Regions from separate parts of the Homo sapiens genome. Here all the other regions are linked to region 5. The links are contacts of gene promoters, found by promoter capture Hi-C in human tissues and cell types (Jung and others, 2019). All regions are on one chromosome and are shown on one strand. The core of a region is centred on a gene start or on the middle of the fragment in contact, and the rest is flanking DNA. Distances in the headings are between cores, read along the strand shown.

What was found. The method cuts DNA at HindIII sites, captures the fragments that hold promoters and counts their contacts. A contact is called where the count stands out against the background at its distance.
Region 1: a contact is called between a fragment that was not itself captured here and the fragment with the promoter of SLC47A2 in region 5, in 1 of the 25 tissues and cell types used here (dorsolateral prefrontal cortex).
Region 2: a contact is called between a fragment that was not itself captured here and the fragment with the promoter of SLC47A2 in region 5, in 2 of the 25 tissues and cell types used here (dorsolateral prefrontal cortex and spleen).
Region 3: a contact is called between a fragment that was not itself captured here and the fragment with the promoter of SLC47A2 in region 5, in 1 of the 25 tissues and cell types used here (mesendoderm cells).
Region 4: a contact is called between a fragment that was not itself captured here and the fragment with the promoter of SLC47A2 in region 5, in 2 of the 25 tissues and cell types used here (dorsolateral prefrontal cortex and mesendoderm cells).

What each region holds. Positions count from the first base shown.
Region 1 is chr17:19,293,544-19,296,243 of GRCh38, forward strand. All of the region lies in intron 4 of EPN2 (epsin 2), which reads left to right. Among named protein-coding and RNA genes, the nearest start is that of EPN2-AS1, 11 kb to the right of the region's middle. The HindIII fragment of the contact is 3,874 bases long and covers 1-2,700 here.
Region 2 is chr17:19,436,204-19,438,903 of GRCh38, forward strand. No RefSeq gene overlaps it. Among named protein-coding and RNA genes, the nearest start is that of LINC02094, 19 kb to the left of the region's middle. The HindIII fragment of the contact is 8,888 bases long and covers 1-2,700 here.
Region 3 is chr17:19,357,199-19,359,898 of GRCh38, forward strand. It overlaps B9D1 (B9 domain containing 1), which reads right to left. Exons shown (of 7, transcript NM_015681.6): 3 at 642-753. Among named protein-coding and RNA genes, the nearest start is that of B9D1, 4.2 kb to the right of the region's middle. RefSeq lists an enhancer at 504-1,003. The HindIII fragment of the contact is 5,514 bases long and covers 1-2,700 here.
Region 4 is chr17:19,327,554-19,330,253 of GRCh38, forward strand. EPN2 (epsin 2) reads left to right here. Exons shown (of 11, transcript NM_014964.5): 8 at 1,158-1,334; 9 at 2,008-2,094. Among named protein-coding and RNA genes, the nearest start is that of MIR1180, 16 kb to the right of the region's middle. RefSeq lists a silencer at 2,451-2,645. The HindIII fragment of the contact is 3,792 bases long and covers 1-2,700 here.
Region 5 is chr17:19,715,285-19,717,984 of GRCh38, forward strand. SLC47A2 (solute carrier family 47 member 2) reads right to left here and starts at 1,300. Exons shown (of 17, transcript NM_001099646.3): 1 at 1,149-1,300. The coding sequence starts at 1,271. LOC124903948 (a long non-coding RNA gene) reads left to right here. Exons shown (of 2, transcript XR_007065659.1): 2 at 2,090-2,700. RefSeq lists enhancers at 778-1,627, 1,628-2,475. The HindIII fragment of the contact is 9,747 bases long and covers 1-2,700 here.

The sequences.
Region 1 (2,700 bases), core at 40-2,539, 420 kb before region 5:
TTTTTTTTTTTTTTTTACTTTCTGTATTTTGTAGAGGTGGGGTTTTGCCACGTTGCCCAGGCTGATCTGGAACTCCTGGGCTCAAGCTATCCTCTGGCCTCGGCCTCTCAAAGTGTTGAGATTACAGGCATGCAGGCACAAGCCACCACACTCAGCCAGGAATACCTAATTAAACCATTATTTAATTGGGCCCCAGATCTTAAGGAGCTCCTCTGATTGTCAGAATATGGGATTGTTCTCAGAATTGAAACAGTGCTATCAAGGCTGGGCGCGGTGGCTCATGCCTATAATCCCAGCACTTTGGGAGGCCGAGGCTGGTGGATCACTTGAGGTCAGGAGTTTGAGACCAGCCTGACCAACATGGTGAAACCCCTGTCTCTACCAAAAATACAAAAAATTAGTCGGGTGTGGTGGTGGATGCTTGTAATCCCAGCTACCCAGGAAGCTGAGGCAGGAGATTGCTTGAAGCTTGGGAGGCAGAGGTTGCAGTGAGCTGAGATCGCACCACTGTACTCCAGCCTGGGCAACAGAGCAAGACTCTGTCTTTAAAAAAAAAAAAAAGAAACAGTGCTATCAAAATTGCTGATTGGGAGGCCGGCTGCAGTGGCCCATGCCTGTAATCCTAGCACTTCGAGAGGCTGAAGCAGGTGAATTGCTTGAGCTTAGGAGTTTGAGACCAGCCTGGACAACACAACAAAACCCCATCGCTACAAAAAAAAAAAAAATTAACCAGGCATGGTGGTGTGCACCTGTAGTCCCAGCTACTTTGTGGGGCTGAGGTGGGAGGAATCGCCTGAGCTCAGGAAGTCCAGGCTGCAGTGAACCAAGATTGTGCCACTGCATTCTAGCCTGGGTGACAAAGCGAGACCCTTTCTCAAAAGAAAAAAAATATTGGGGATTGGGTTATTGATTAAATGATTGACATTGGCGTGTGCCATAGAAAATGGATCAATACAATATTTACCTGTTTTTTAAGGATCCTTTGTAGTATAGGTAAACAAACTATTGTTTATAAACTGTCAATAAGTGTAGAAGGTTTCTCGATGCTTTAAGGTTGAGTTTAGCAACAGTATGATACATAGTTGTTAGTTTTTGTTTAGTGATACAAGGCAGTTCCTCATTTTGACAGTTGCCTTTTCTTTTTTCCCTAAATCACTAGCTCTCAAGCTTTTAAATCTCCCAAAATGTCCCAAATCCTGGGCCACACCTTTGCCACACTTCTCAAATGAGAATCTCTGGGAGGGCCCCAGGTACTGCGGTGGCACTGACAGCATTGTACTGGGGGCTGCTGGTTCCCTGTCAGATGTTTTAAGTCAGATTGGCTAGCATAGTCACAGCTGCTGACGGTGTCTTTATTCATGGATGCTCAGTACAGCAGTTGCTAGTTTCAAATAGACAACTTCCAGGAGGCATTAAAAAAAAATTATATGACTAGAAACAGGAGGGAAGGCATGCAGATAGATTTGTCTTCCCATGGGAAGTAGGCCATATAAGTTAAATCTCTCTCTGTATCATATCCTTTTTTACTATCTTCAGAGTCTTTTTCACTACCTGAAATTCTCTTATTTGCTTTGTTTTGTCTCCCTGCACTAAAACAAGCTGTTAGAGCAGGAGCCCCGTTCATGCCCCGTGCTGTATCCCTAGTGTCTTTAGCACAACACCTGAACCAGGAAAGGTGCTCAGAACATACTTCATGCATGAGTGCTAAATAAGCCTCTCTTCTCCTCTCTCCTCACCTGAGGGCAGGAGTTCGAGACTAGCCTTGCCAACGCAGTGAAACCCCATCTCTATTAAAAATACACACACACACACACACACACACACGCGCGTGCGCGCAAAATAGCCAGGTGTAGTGGTGCATGCCTGTAGTCCCAGCTACCTGGGAGGCTGAGGCAGGAGAATCACTTTAACCCAGGAAGTGGAGGTTGCAGTGAGCCGAGATCGTGCCATTAGACTCCAGCCTGGGTGACAAGAGTGAAACTCCCTCTCAGAAAAAAAAGAAAAGAAAAGAAAAAATACATTTGAAGTCAATTCCAGAAATATAGGAATGCCTTATATATTTGTGTGGTTTCTCGATGCTTTAAGGTTGAGTTTAGCAACAGTATGATTCATAGTTGTTGTTTTTGTTTAGTGATACAAGGCAGTTCCTCATTTTGACAGTTGCCTTTTTTCCCTAAATCACTAGCTCTCAAGCTTTTAAATCTCCCAAAATGTCCCAAATCCTGGGCCACACCTCTCCCACACCTCTCAAATTAGAATCTCTGGGAGGGCCCCAGGTGCCGCGGTGGCACTGACAGCAGTGTGCTGGGGGCTGCTGGTTCCCTGTCAGGCTTTAATCAGTTGAAGGGCTCTTCCTCCCCTCTCCCCTCAACTCATGGCCCGTAGCAGTGTCTTTTTACAGAGTTACAGGCAGCTAGGCAACACTCCAACTTGGAGCAGCTTGGAAATTGATATTACACATCAAATTAGTCTCCTCCTGCTGACTGCTAATGGAAAGCTTAGTCCAGCTTAGTCCAGCTTGCAGTGGGATAACCAGAGCTCCTCCCGCAAGTCCACTCTGCGACCTGCTTCTCCAAGTACAGTGAGGGCATGAAGTCATTCATTCTATTTTTTTTTTTTTAAACTGGGACAGAGTCTCACCCCGTCACCCAGGCTGGAGTGCAGTGGCGTGATCTCGGCTCACTACAACCTCTGCCTCCC
Region 2 (2,700 bases), core at 87-2,586, 280 kb before region 5:
CATTTGAGACCAGGAGTTTGAGACCACTCTGGTCAACATGGTGAAACCCCGTCTCTACAAAATATAAAAATGAGCCAACTGTGGTGGCCTGTGCCCATAGTCCCAGCTATTTAGATGGCTGAGACATGAGAACCACTTGAACCCAGGAGGAGGAGGTTGCAGTGAGCCGAGATCATGCCATTGCACTCCAGCCTGGGCCACAGAGCAAGATTCTGTCTCAAAAACAAAACAAAACAAAAAAGCCTTTTCAGGTTCTAAGGATTAAGTCAGAGATTCTGGAATATTGTCATGTAATGCTCCATCAGAGGTTTTTGCCTGCCCTGTAAAAGCTGGTGTTAAGTAAAGTAAAATTATGGGAGATCATTGTTTTGGATGAAGCTCCTGCACTAGACCCCAGAGGACCAGACTAAAAATCAAAATAGAGTCACCTATGCTAAAGTTCCAGGTTACAAAACCAAAACTAAGTTGTTATCTGACAGGAGAGAGATTTCCCAAACAGGCCAGTTTCCATTTTTAAGCAGCATGATAATGAATTCTCTCTGCTTTAATCCTCACACAAAAGCAGCAGCCTGAAGCAACCTGAGAATAACCTAGTCAGTTATTCTCTATTGTTCTGTCTTCCTGTGCCCACCTTACCAGAAAAGTAGCTTTGAAACCAGGGATATGCTCTTTGTTCTTTGCTTCTGCTTTCTTCATCCCTTCTGTCTGTAAAGCCAACCCCTTCTGCTCAGCTCGTGGGAACACTTATTCTGTTTTCTGGAATGGAGTGTTGCCCAATTCTAGGCTCATAATAAAGTAAATTGAGATCTTTAAATTTGTTGTAGTTTTGTCGTTTGACCTTGGAGTCCACTGTGGAAAATATCCTACCCATCTCTAAAATTGTCTTTAAGTTATTTTTCCTGTTGTAGACCATTTCATGTGAAAAATTAGCTAACTCCTAGATTATAACACTTTTGTGTTCTTCAGTGACAAATGTCCTAAATATTTTACCTCAGTTTGGCAATATTACAATTTGTCTAGTAAGGCCTTAAGCCTCTCTGAAGTGAGGAATTCTAACAAAGCCAAAAGTATCAGTTTGGCATTGCTCTTTAGTTTCTTAGGCTATCAGCAAATCATCTACATATTGGATTGTAAACCAAAAATAAAATTCTAAGCCCCTTAACCAACTGAATGGACCCCTCTTCTTGGCCAAGGGGATTCCAAAATAAACTGAAACACTACTTCTGGCCATGATGGGAATGGGTGGTTTGATATGCCTCATTATACCTTCCTCCCTTGGAACTCAGGCACAACTGACCACCATTAATATTAAAACAAGAGACCTTAACACTGATGAAATAGACTCATTTTTTCTTTTTTTGAGACAGAGTCTCACTCTGTCCCCGAGGCTGGAGTGCAGTGGCACAATCTTGGCTCACTGCAACCTCCATCTGCCTCCCAGGTTCAAGTGATTCTCCCACCTCAGCCTCCTGAGTAGCTGGGATTACAGGTGCATGCCACCATGCTTGACTAATTTTTGGATTTAAATAGACCCTTTGCAGCAATAAGATACCAACATGACAGATAGCAGGCCCCAAAAGAAATAGAAATATTTTACCCCAAAATATATTTCTTTGACATATTTTGAAATGGCCCTGCACAGCTTTATCTTGTGGAGAAAATCTACATTCAGTAGAGAATCCCCTTCCCTTTCCAGGTATTTTTCCTGATGCAGGAGAGAATTAACTAAGAGTCTGGCACCTTTCTAAGTCTGATAAAAAAACATGTACAATCTATTCTCTCTGAAGTCTGCTACCTGAAGGCATCATCTGCATAATAAGAACCTTGATTTCCCAAACCCCTTATCTTAACCCAGATATTCTCTTCTATGGATTCCAGGTCTTTAGATAATAACTCTTTCAACCAGTTGCCAATTAGAAAATCTCTGAATTCACCTATGACCTGGAAGCCCCCTCTTTGAGTTGTCTCACCTTTCGGCACCAAACCAATGTATATCTTACATGTATTATTATTATTTTGAGACAGAGTCTTGCTCTGTCACCCAGGCTGGAGTGCAGTGGCGTGATCTCGGCTTACCATAACCTCTGCTTCCTGGGTTCAAGCAATTCTCCTGCCTCAGCCTCCTTAATAGCTGGGATTACAGGTGCACGCCACCACACCTGGATAATTTTTGTATTTTTAGTAGAGATGAGGTTTCACCATGTTGTTCAAGCTGGTCTTGAACTCCTGACCTTTTGATCCACCCGCCTCGGCCTCCCAAAATGCTGGGATTACAGGTGTGAGCCACCATGCCCAGCCATCTTACATGTATTGATTGTTGTCTTGTCTCCCTAGAATGTATGAAACCAAGTTATGGCCCAATCACCTTGGGTGCATGTTCTTAGGATCTCCTAGGGCTATGTCACATGTCATTGGTCCTCATGTTTGGCTCAGAATAAATCTCTTCAAATATTTTACAGAGTTTGACTCTTTTCGTTGACAGGATAATTATAAATTTCTCTGGTGGGACAAATTTCCCTAATATTTCCTGTAAATTGCTAGAGAAAAGAGTAGGAGAGTCCTGAAATCCTTGAGAAATTCTTTACTAAGTTAAGTATTGAACTCCTTTGTAGGTAAAAGCAAACAAGGGTTTGGACAGGAACAGGAAGAAAAAGCAGAACACATTACAGACAACAGAAACAAAGTCAAAATAGTTGCAGG
Region 3 (2,700 bases), core at 169-2,668, 360 kb before region 5:
GCTCGGATAAGTCCACACAGTGAAAGTATTCATAGTCCCCATGGAGACTAAGCCCAGGCTTTGTGCACAGTAGGCACTTATGAAGTGCAAGTGAACAATCAGAATGGTTAATAACCACCAGCCAAGGTAGAAAGTAAGCAATGCCAGCCAGGAAGCCCTTGGGAAAGAGGTTAGACATAGGACGTGGGAATGGTATCCAGACAGATGGATCGGCATGAATAAAGCTCAGATGAAGAAAGTTGAGGGACTAGCACAGGAGGAGAAAGTGCCAGGGTCTAGCCGGAACACAACACGCCATGGGAAGTCAGCAGGCACAGAGTCAGGCCTCCAGGCCAAACAGCCACAGTCCTGCATGCCAGGGTGGGGAGCCTGCCTTTTACAGGCGTGGCCACTAGCCCTGATGCACTCTGAACTTCCAGAAGGCCAGCTGCACAGCCTGTAGCAGATGAAGGGGGTGAGTGGGGATGAGGAAGAAGAGGAGGGAAAGGGACAGATGGCGAGAGAGAACGTTGAGGGCTGCTTCAAGAGCCCAGGTGACAATCTGAATGTGAACAGTCATGGGCTGGATGAGGCAGAGGCTGTCTTGGGGGTGCTGTGTGAAAGCTCTGCCACCCTACCCCACAGGGCCCCTGCAGACTCACAGCCGTAGGGGTTGGTGCTTTTAAAGGTGACATCAATGGGGAAGTTCCACACCAGTGCTTGCCGCACATCTTGGCTCTTGGATGTGATCTGTGAGATCCCCTCCTCCAGACCCTGTGAGGACAGTGACACAGACGGCTGGATTCAGAGCAGAGCCAAGCTGCTGCGGCTCCTCCCCTTACCTTCAGCAGGCAGTTGGGAGGGCTGTTTTCTCAGCTGTCTTCTCCCAAGACACGAACTTCCAAACAAAGGGGACTAAGAGATGATGGAGTACCTCTTTAAGTCTGGTACTTTAACGCCGTAGCTTGACAACCCTGGGAGGCCAGCCACTCTCCCGGGCACAAGGGCACTAGATCTGGTCCCAAGCTCTTGCCCCACTGAAGGAATGGTCCAGCATGCTTACACTCTCCTGCATCCCCACCCTCACCTGAGTATCCCCATCCTCACCTGAGTATCCCCATCGGTAAATACGTAAATGTGTTTTCTCCATCAAAAATAGTCCTCTTTCAACTCTGCGGCTTCTTCCACCCACCAACCCTTTCTCTGCTCCCTTTATAGCAAAACTGCCTCAAAGAGCTGCCACACTCACCGGCTCCAATTCCTCCCCTGCTATTCTTTTGTGACCCCACTCCAATGTGACTGCTGGCTCCAGCACTCTACCAAAGGGTTTTCTCCATTAATGCCCGTGACCAACATTGCTAGATCCAATGGTCATTTCTCTATCCTCGTGTTACTTGACCCATCAGCAGCACCTGATGCAGCTGCTTACTCCTTGATACACTGTCTTCCCTTGGCTTCTGGGTCTCTCCACTGCACAGGGTGGCCCCTGCTCAGTGGCTCTTGCTGGTTCCTTCTCAGTGTTGCCGTCCTAAGGCTGCATCTTTGGCCAGCTCCTCTACCTGTACTTGGTGATCTCATCCATCTCATGGCTTTCAATGTGCTCTAGATGTCGATGATTCCCAAATTTATGTCTCCAGCCTGGTCCTTGCCTCTGCACTCTGGATCAGCACCTCCTCTTGGATATCCAGTGGGTGCCTCAACCTTAACCCACACCAGGCTGAGCTCCAGGTAGCTCTCCCCAATCTGTTCTTCTCACTGAAAGGCAGCTGCCTACTTCTAAGTGCTCAGGCTAAAAGCCCTGCTGTGAATCCTAACTCCTCCTTCTCTCAGACCTCACATCCATCAAAAGAACCCAGCGGCTCTATCTTCAGAATATACTTGCAGTCCAGCCCCTCCCACCACCCCACTGCCACTGCCCTCCTCTCCCATCTCCACTGCTGTCAGAGCCAACTGGGCTGCCTGCTCTTGCCCTTTCCCCCCGAGTCTATCCTTGTCGTAGAAGCCAGGGAATCTTCTAAAAACATAAGTCAGATCACTTTCTCTGCTGAAAGTTCTCCAGTGGGATCCCATCTCCCTTTGAGTAAAGGTCACAGTCCTTACTCTGACAAGACCTGCCCAGGTGCCTCTCTGCTCCAGCCACTCTCCTGCTGGCTCGCTCTCCAGTGGCCACACAGCCTCCTTGCTGGTCCTCAAACATGCCAGGCAAGCTCCTGCTCCAGGGCCTTTGCACTCTCTGCTGTTTCTGCCTGGACAGTTCTCACGGGTTTCCACATGGCTTGTTCCCTCACTTCCTTCAGGTCTTTCCTCAAAAGTTACTTTCTCGGCAAGGCCCTCCCTGGCAGCCTTAGCGAGATCGCAGCCTCCTTCTCATCACTCATCCCTGTCACTTCCTGGCTTGGTCTCCCCTCACACTTCTGGCTTACTAACATCCTAGAATATGCACTCCTTATTATCTGACCCCCCAGCAAGAACGTGCGCTCCGGGAAGGCAGGGTCTTCTGGTTTGGCTTTGCTCACCCCTGCATCCCCAGCACCCAGAAGACAATCAATAAAGGGAAAAGAAGGATTATCATCTCAGTTGTACAAATGAGGAAACTGAGGCTCAGAGAGCTTAAATAAGTTCAGTCTCCTTTTCTTAAACTGCTATGAAGATGAAACAAGTGCTTTGCAAACAGCAGAGCACAGAGCGGGCTGAAGTTGTCACCACAGTCCCTCACCTGGT
Region 4 (2,700 bases), core at 55-2,554, 390 kb before region 5:
TCCCAGCTACTTGGGAGGCGGCGGTGGGAGGATCGCTTGAGCATGGGAGGTGGAGGCGTAGTGAGCTGTGATTGCACCACTGCACTCCAGTCTGGGTGACAGAGTGAGACCCTATCTGATAAATAAATGAATACACACACATATTTAGACACACATACATATACATAATATATATGTGTGTGTGTATTCAGAAAATAGGCACAACTAACTAAAGGTATCCCTACAAGATAAACTAGAAGGAGAAACAAGAGAAAGGCTAATAAACAGTTCATAATGGTTGGGGTAGGAATGTCATTGGGGAGGCACTTTCTGGTCCCTGAGAGGCGGCAGTGGTGTCTGAACACTTGCAGTGCTCCGCGAGAAGGAAGGAGATGTTGGTTTTATTTTATATGTACTCATGTATACACAAATCTGTGTCTATACATAAAGATGCACATCACAGCGTTGACACTTAACATTAGATGCACTCAGATGTTTTAGTTTTTTTGTGTGTGTTTTTTCTTTTTTTAAAAATTTTTTTCTCTGTTTTTTAAAGCCAGTTGTGACCCACTAAATTGATTTTGTCACTCCCTGTTTGAAAGTGTTTTATTGCTTAAGTTGGGTGGTAAGTATGTAGCTGTTTGTTTTATTCCTTTTTATACAGGACTCATCCATTTATATATGCTTCTGTCAGAAAGCAGAAACCACTCAAAGCACATGGGGAGAGGATGCCTCTGTGCCTCTACAGAGCCTGGGCCGAGGTGGGAGGGCTGCCTGGGGCCCCTTGTCTGAGGAGGGAGCCTGGATTCTGTGGGGAGATAGGTTTGTTTCAGATAGTCCATCGAAGTGGGGTTGAGCTCAGGAGCCCTTTGCAAGCCCCCTGTATGGTGGGGAGCTTGGAGAGAACCTCTTTCAGCTGCTTCCTCTGGTCATTACTAGAGGACAGGGAGAGGTTATCCTGGGACATCCTGGCCTAGCATGCTTCCTTACCAGGGTTGTTGGCCCTGGGCCCCAGCTGTGTCCCTCTTTGCTGGCGTGGGACAGTACCCTTTTGATGGCTGTCTCACCTGGCACAGGGCATAGACCCTGGTGTGGCTGGCAGTATCCTTTTCCCTTCTCACCCCAGCTGCCCAGACCCTCTGAAGGCATTTCTGAGCCCTGACCCTGCCTTCCAACAGGTACCAAGCCAGCTGCCTCCATTGACCCATGGGGGGTGCCCACTGGAGCCACCGTACAATCTGTCCCCAAGAACTCGGACCCCTGGGCAGCTTCACAGCAGCCTGCCTCCAGTGCTGGGAAAAGAGCTTCTGACGCGTGGGGCGCAGTCTCCACCACCAAGCCCGTGTCTGTCTCTGGTGAGCCCCTCACTCACCCACTTTCCTGCCTGGCCTCTGAGCGCCCACGGGCCCTGCAGCCGCTCCTGGCTCCTAGGCATCAGCCCTGTTGCTTTGCTTGCATTTGCTCCCCTCCTCCCCCTTAGCCTTTGTTCCTGATCCCCAGATCCCAGGTGCCCCAGTGTGAGAGTGAGTGAGTGCGAGTTCCCAGGCTTTGTGCGCTGGTACCTCCCTCCAAATTGAGGGGGCTTCCACCTGGGTGTTGAGAGAGAAGACTGCCCTGGGCCCACAGCCTGTGGGTCCTGTCCTCACCCCTGGGGGGCTGGGCAGGCTGGCCTCCAGGCACTCCTTCTGGTGACTTCCTACAGACCCTCATCCAAGCAACCAGACCCAGCTTGATGCACCTCCACCACTGCCAGCACCCCTTTGCCTTTTGGGGTGAGGGTGTTAGAAGCAGTAGCAGGTGGGCATCCCACACCCTGTCCTGGGAGGCCAGGCTCCCTGTCTCCCCTCCCAGCGTGCTGGTGACCCCAGGCTGTCTTGCCTCTTTGGCTCTCAGAATTCTCCTCCATGAGGTAGGGTAAGCGGGGAGAGGCCCCTGTTGCCAGCCCATCCTGAGGGTGTGCACTGGGCAGTGGAGTTGCCATGAAGTCCTGTGAGATGCCCCCAGTCATTGGCTTCTGTGTCCACCCAGGGTCCTTTGAGCTCTTCAGTAATCTGAATGGTACAATTAAAGATGACTTTTCTGAATTTGACAACCTTCGGACTTCAAAAAAAACAGGTATGTACAGGTGATGATGGTTTCCATAATCCTCCGTGCATTTGACCAGCTGAGTTATTGCAGAAATAATAATCAGCTTTCAAAACCCTTCAGCTTCCTGCATTTTCTTTGTATTTTGATCTTGGGAGCCTGAAGTTTCTAATTCTAAGAATTCATACATCAATAGTTAAAAATCACAAGGTAGAGTCCCCCAGGACTATGTCTCCAGGTTAGGATCCCCAAAGCTTCCTGCAGATTCCACAGCCCCGGCCTCCTCAGCTCAGAGTGGGCCTCACCTCTGGCCTGATCCAGCATTTCCATTCACCCTCCTCCTGCCAATTTCCACTCCTCAGAGGGCCTCCTTTTCCCAGACAACCACCTTTGGGCATCAGTGGGGCCAGCCTCTGCCCTGTGTTGTCACCTCCCAGGTGACCGCTCCAGCCCAGCAGACCCACAGTCCAGTCTCCAGACCTGTTTTCCTTCCCTGTGTGCCTCTGGGATGGAAGGATATCAGGTGGATGCAGTGGGCCAAGTGGCCAGTGGGCCAAGGTGGGCCTGGAGGGGTGGAGGGAGAAGGCCTGGGATGCATTCTTCACACACCCTGTTTGGACTGGGGTGTGACAGCCT
Region 5 (2,700 bases), core at 50-2,549:
GCCTCTCCAGCTTTGAGGGCCCCGCACCAGTGCCCCGAGAGGTCACCTACGCCTGGGGAAGCCAGGGCTGGAGGTCGGATGACCTAGCCCAGCTCCCATTCTGCGTTCTGCAGCTGCAGTCACGCCTGGCCTCCACGTCCCTACCCAGAAGGGTCAGTGCCTGGCGCAGCGCAGTGCCTGGCGCCCTGAGCTTGACCCAAGTGTCTGATACTGCTATTGCAGTTCCTATTATAACAATAATTTGGTCAGGCCGCACACCCCCAAAAAAGGAGGGGAATTAAATACACCAAAATCTTAGTAATGGCTATTTCCAAGTACTAGGATTTGAGTTAAATTTCTTTCTTCTTTATATCTTTCATTTTTTTCTAAAAGTTTTACAGGAAGTGCAATTCCATTACTCCTTTTTGGTTTTGTTTTTTTTGTTTTTTTTTTTTTTTTTGAGACGGAGTTTCGCCCTTGTTGCCCAGGCTGGAGTGCAGTGGCGCGATCTCGGCTCACTGCAACCTACCCGTCCCGGGTTCAAGCGATTCTCTGCCTCTCTCTCCCAAGTAGCTGGAATTACAGGCGCCCGCCACCATGCCTGGTTAATTTTTGTATTTTTAGTAGAGTCGGGGGGTTCTCCATGTTGGCCGGGCTGGTCTCCAACTCCTGACCTCAGGTGATCCTCCCTGCTCGGCCTCCCAAAGTGCTGAGATAACAGGCGTGAGGCAGCACGCCCAGCCTATTCCTCTTCATGATCAGAAAAAATAAATGTATTTAAAACAATTTCCCCTTTGGAAATGAAATGGGTAGCCGGCCCCTTCTTCCCCCTGCGAAGGTGCTGCAGGCTTCATGCATCTCTGGGTCCCATTTGTCCTGGAGCCATCTTCCAACTCAGGCTTTTGTGGGTTTCCAGCTGAGGCACACCCACCCCTTCTGTGTGGGGGCTGCCTGCTGCTGAGCAAAGTCAGGCCCCACTGCCACTGGGGATTGTCCAGAGACAGCTTTCAGGAGCCATCCTGCTGTCCCCAGACTCTGGACCTGGCAGTCAACATGGGCAGTTTCTGGGGAAAATGTGAGCACATTTCTGGATCCTGCCTGCAAGGCAGACACCCTCAGCCTCTCAGCTTCCTCCACTCCCTACCTGCCCCCCAGCTCCTCCTCCTTACCAGGGGTCCAGAAAGGGCAAAGAGAGTCCACATCTCAGTCCCAAAGCCTCTGGGAACCAGCCTGCTGAGGGCAGGGCAGCAGCCCCCATGGTCCAGGGCCACTGTGTCCTGGAGGCTGTCCATTCCTGGCCGGGGCACTGGCTACCCTGCACGCCTGAGCGCCTGCACGGCCAGCTTTGTCCAGCGAGCCACCCCCTGCCTGGGCAGCCCGTGTCGGTACAGCCTGGCTGATGAGTAAGGGGCAGGAGGAGGGGCTACCATGGCAACTTGTGGGATGAGCCCTGCCTCCTAGGGCACTGAGTCCCTGCTGCCAAGCCTACTGCCTCAGCCACTAGGGAGGACAGGTTCCTGGGAGTCACCCAGACCGCTGCCTGTTGTGTCTGGTCTCCCAGAGGGATTGGCAGTAAGGCCTCAGCAGGAGAAGGTCCAGGGCTGCCTGCAGTGGCTGTGGGAGGTGTGCTGAGGCCAGGACAGGGCAGCCTGGCTGGGGCAGCTGAGCCACTGGGCGTCCTGTACCCGGGCGTGATGGTGCCCACAGTGACTCCCGTTTTTCAGAAGAATTGGTGGCCTGCCCGAAGTCACAGAGCAGGTGGTGGCAGAGCCTGAACAGCCCTCAGCCCTGCTTTTCCCTGGGAGGGGTGGCTTCCCAAGAGACAGGGGCCTGGCAAACCCCATGGCAGTGCGGTCCCTAGCCTTTCATGCTGGAGGGGCCTGGGCCTGGGCCTGGGGATAGGGATGGGAGCTAGGACACCTCGGCGGAGTCCCAAGCCCCCCACTGCCCGTCACCCCTTTCAGCAGCATATCTGAGAGCCAGGGGTGGCAGTGCTTGGGAAAGCAGCTCACTATGCACGCCAGTCACTGTGCCCAGCAAGGCTGTGACTCGACGTCCCACAGGGTCCTCTGTCACCTTCCCAAATTGCCCTCTCTGCTTTTCCTTGCAGGGATGGCCTGTGACTCCCCCCTCAACCTGCCTCAAGACCAGCAGGGCAGTGGGAACCAAGAGAGGCATCTAAGGATTGCACCGGTCACCTAGCCCAGTCCTGGATCAAGCTTTTGGGTGTGGTTCAGCCCAGGAGAAGGAGGAGTGAGCGAGGGGGGCAGGAAGACAGCAGGCAGGCTGGCCAGTGGCTGTGGGAGGGCTGAAGACATCCCAAAGGCCCCACTTGGTTCCCATGTCCACCCCTGCAGCGGAGGAGTGGCCGGCAGGATTCCGAGATGCAGCCCCCAGAGCCGCGAGGAGGAAGGAGCAGACCCTGAAGGAGAGGAGGCAGGACAAATACAAAAAAAAAAAAAGGGTTTGCTACACCCATGGGCGGCCCCAAACACAGGCACAGCCCCACCCCAGTCAACACGCAGCCTTCTTTTTTGACACAGAATTCTGAAACGCTCCACTGGATCCTCCCAGGATCACCTGGGAGGTCACATTCCTGCCCTTGTTCTGATGGTTCTTATCACAGCACTCTCCAACCTGTGCACCAAATAGTACCTTTACCACCTGCCTAGAGGAAAGAAGACATTTTATCACCATCGTGATTGTGATGATGACACCAAA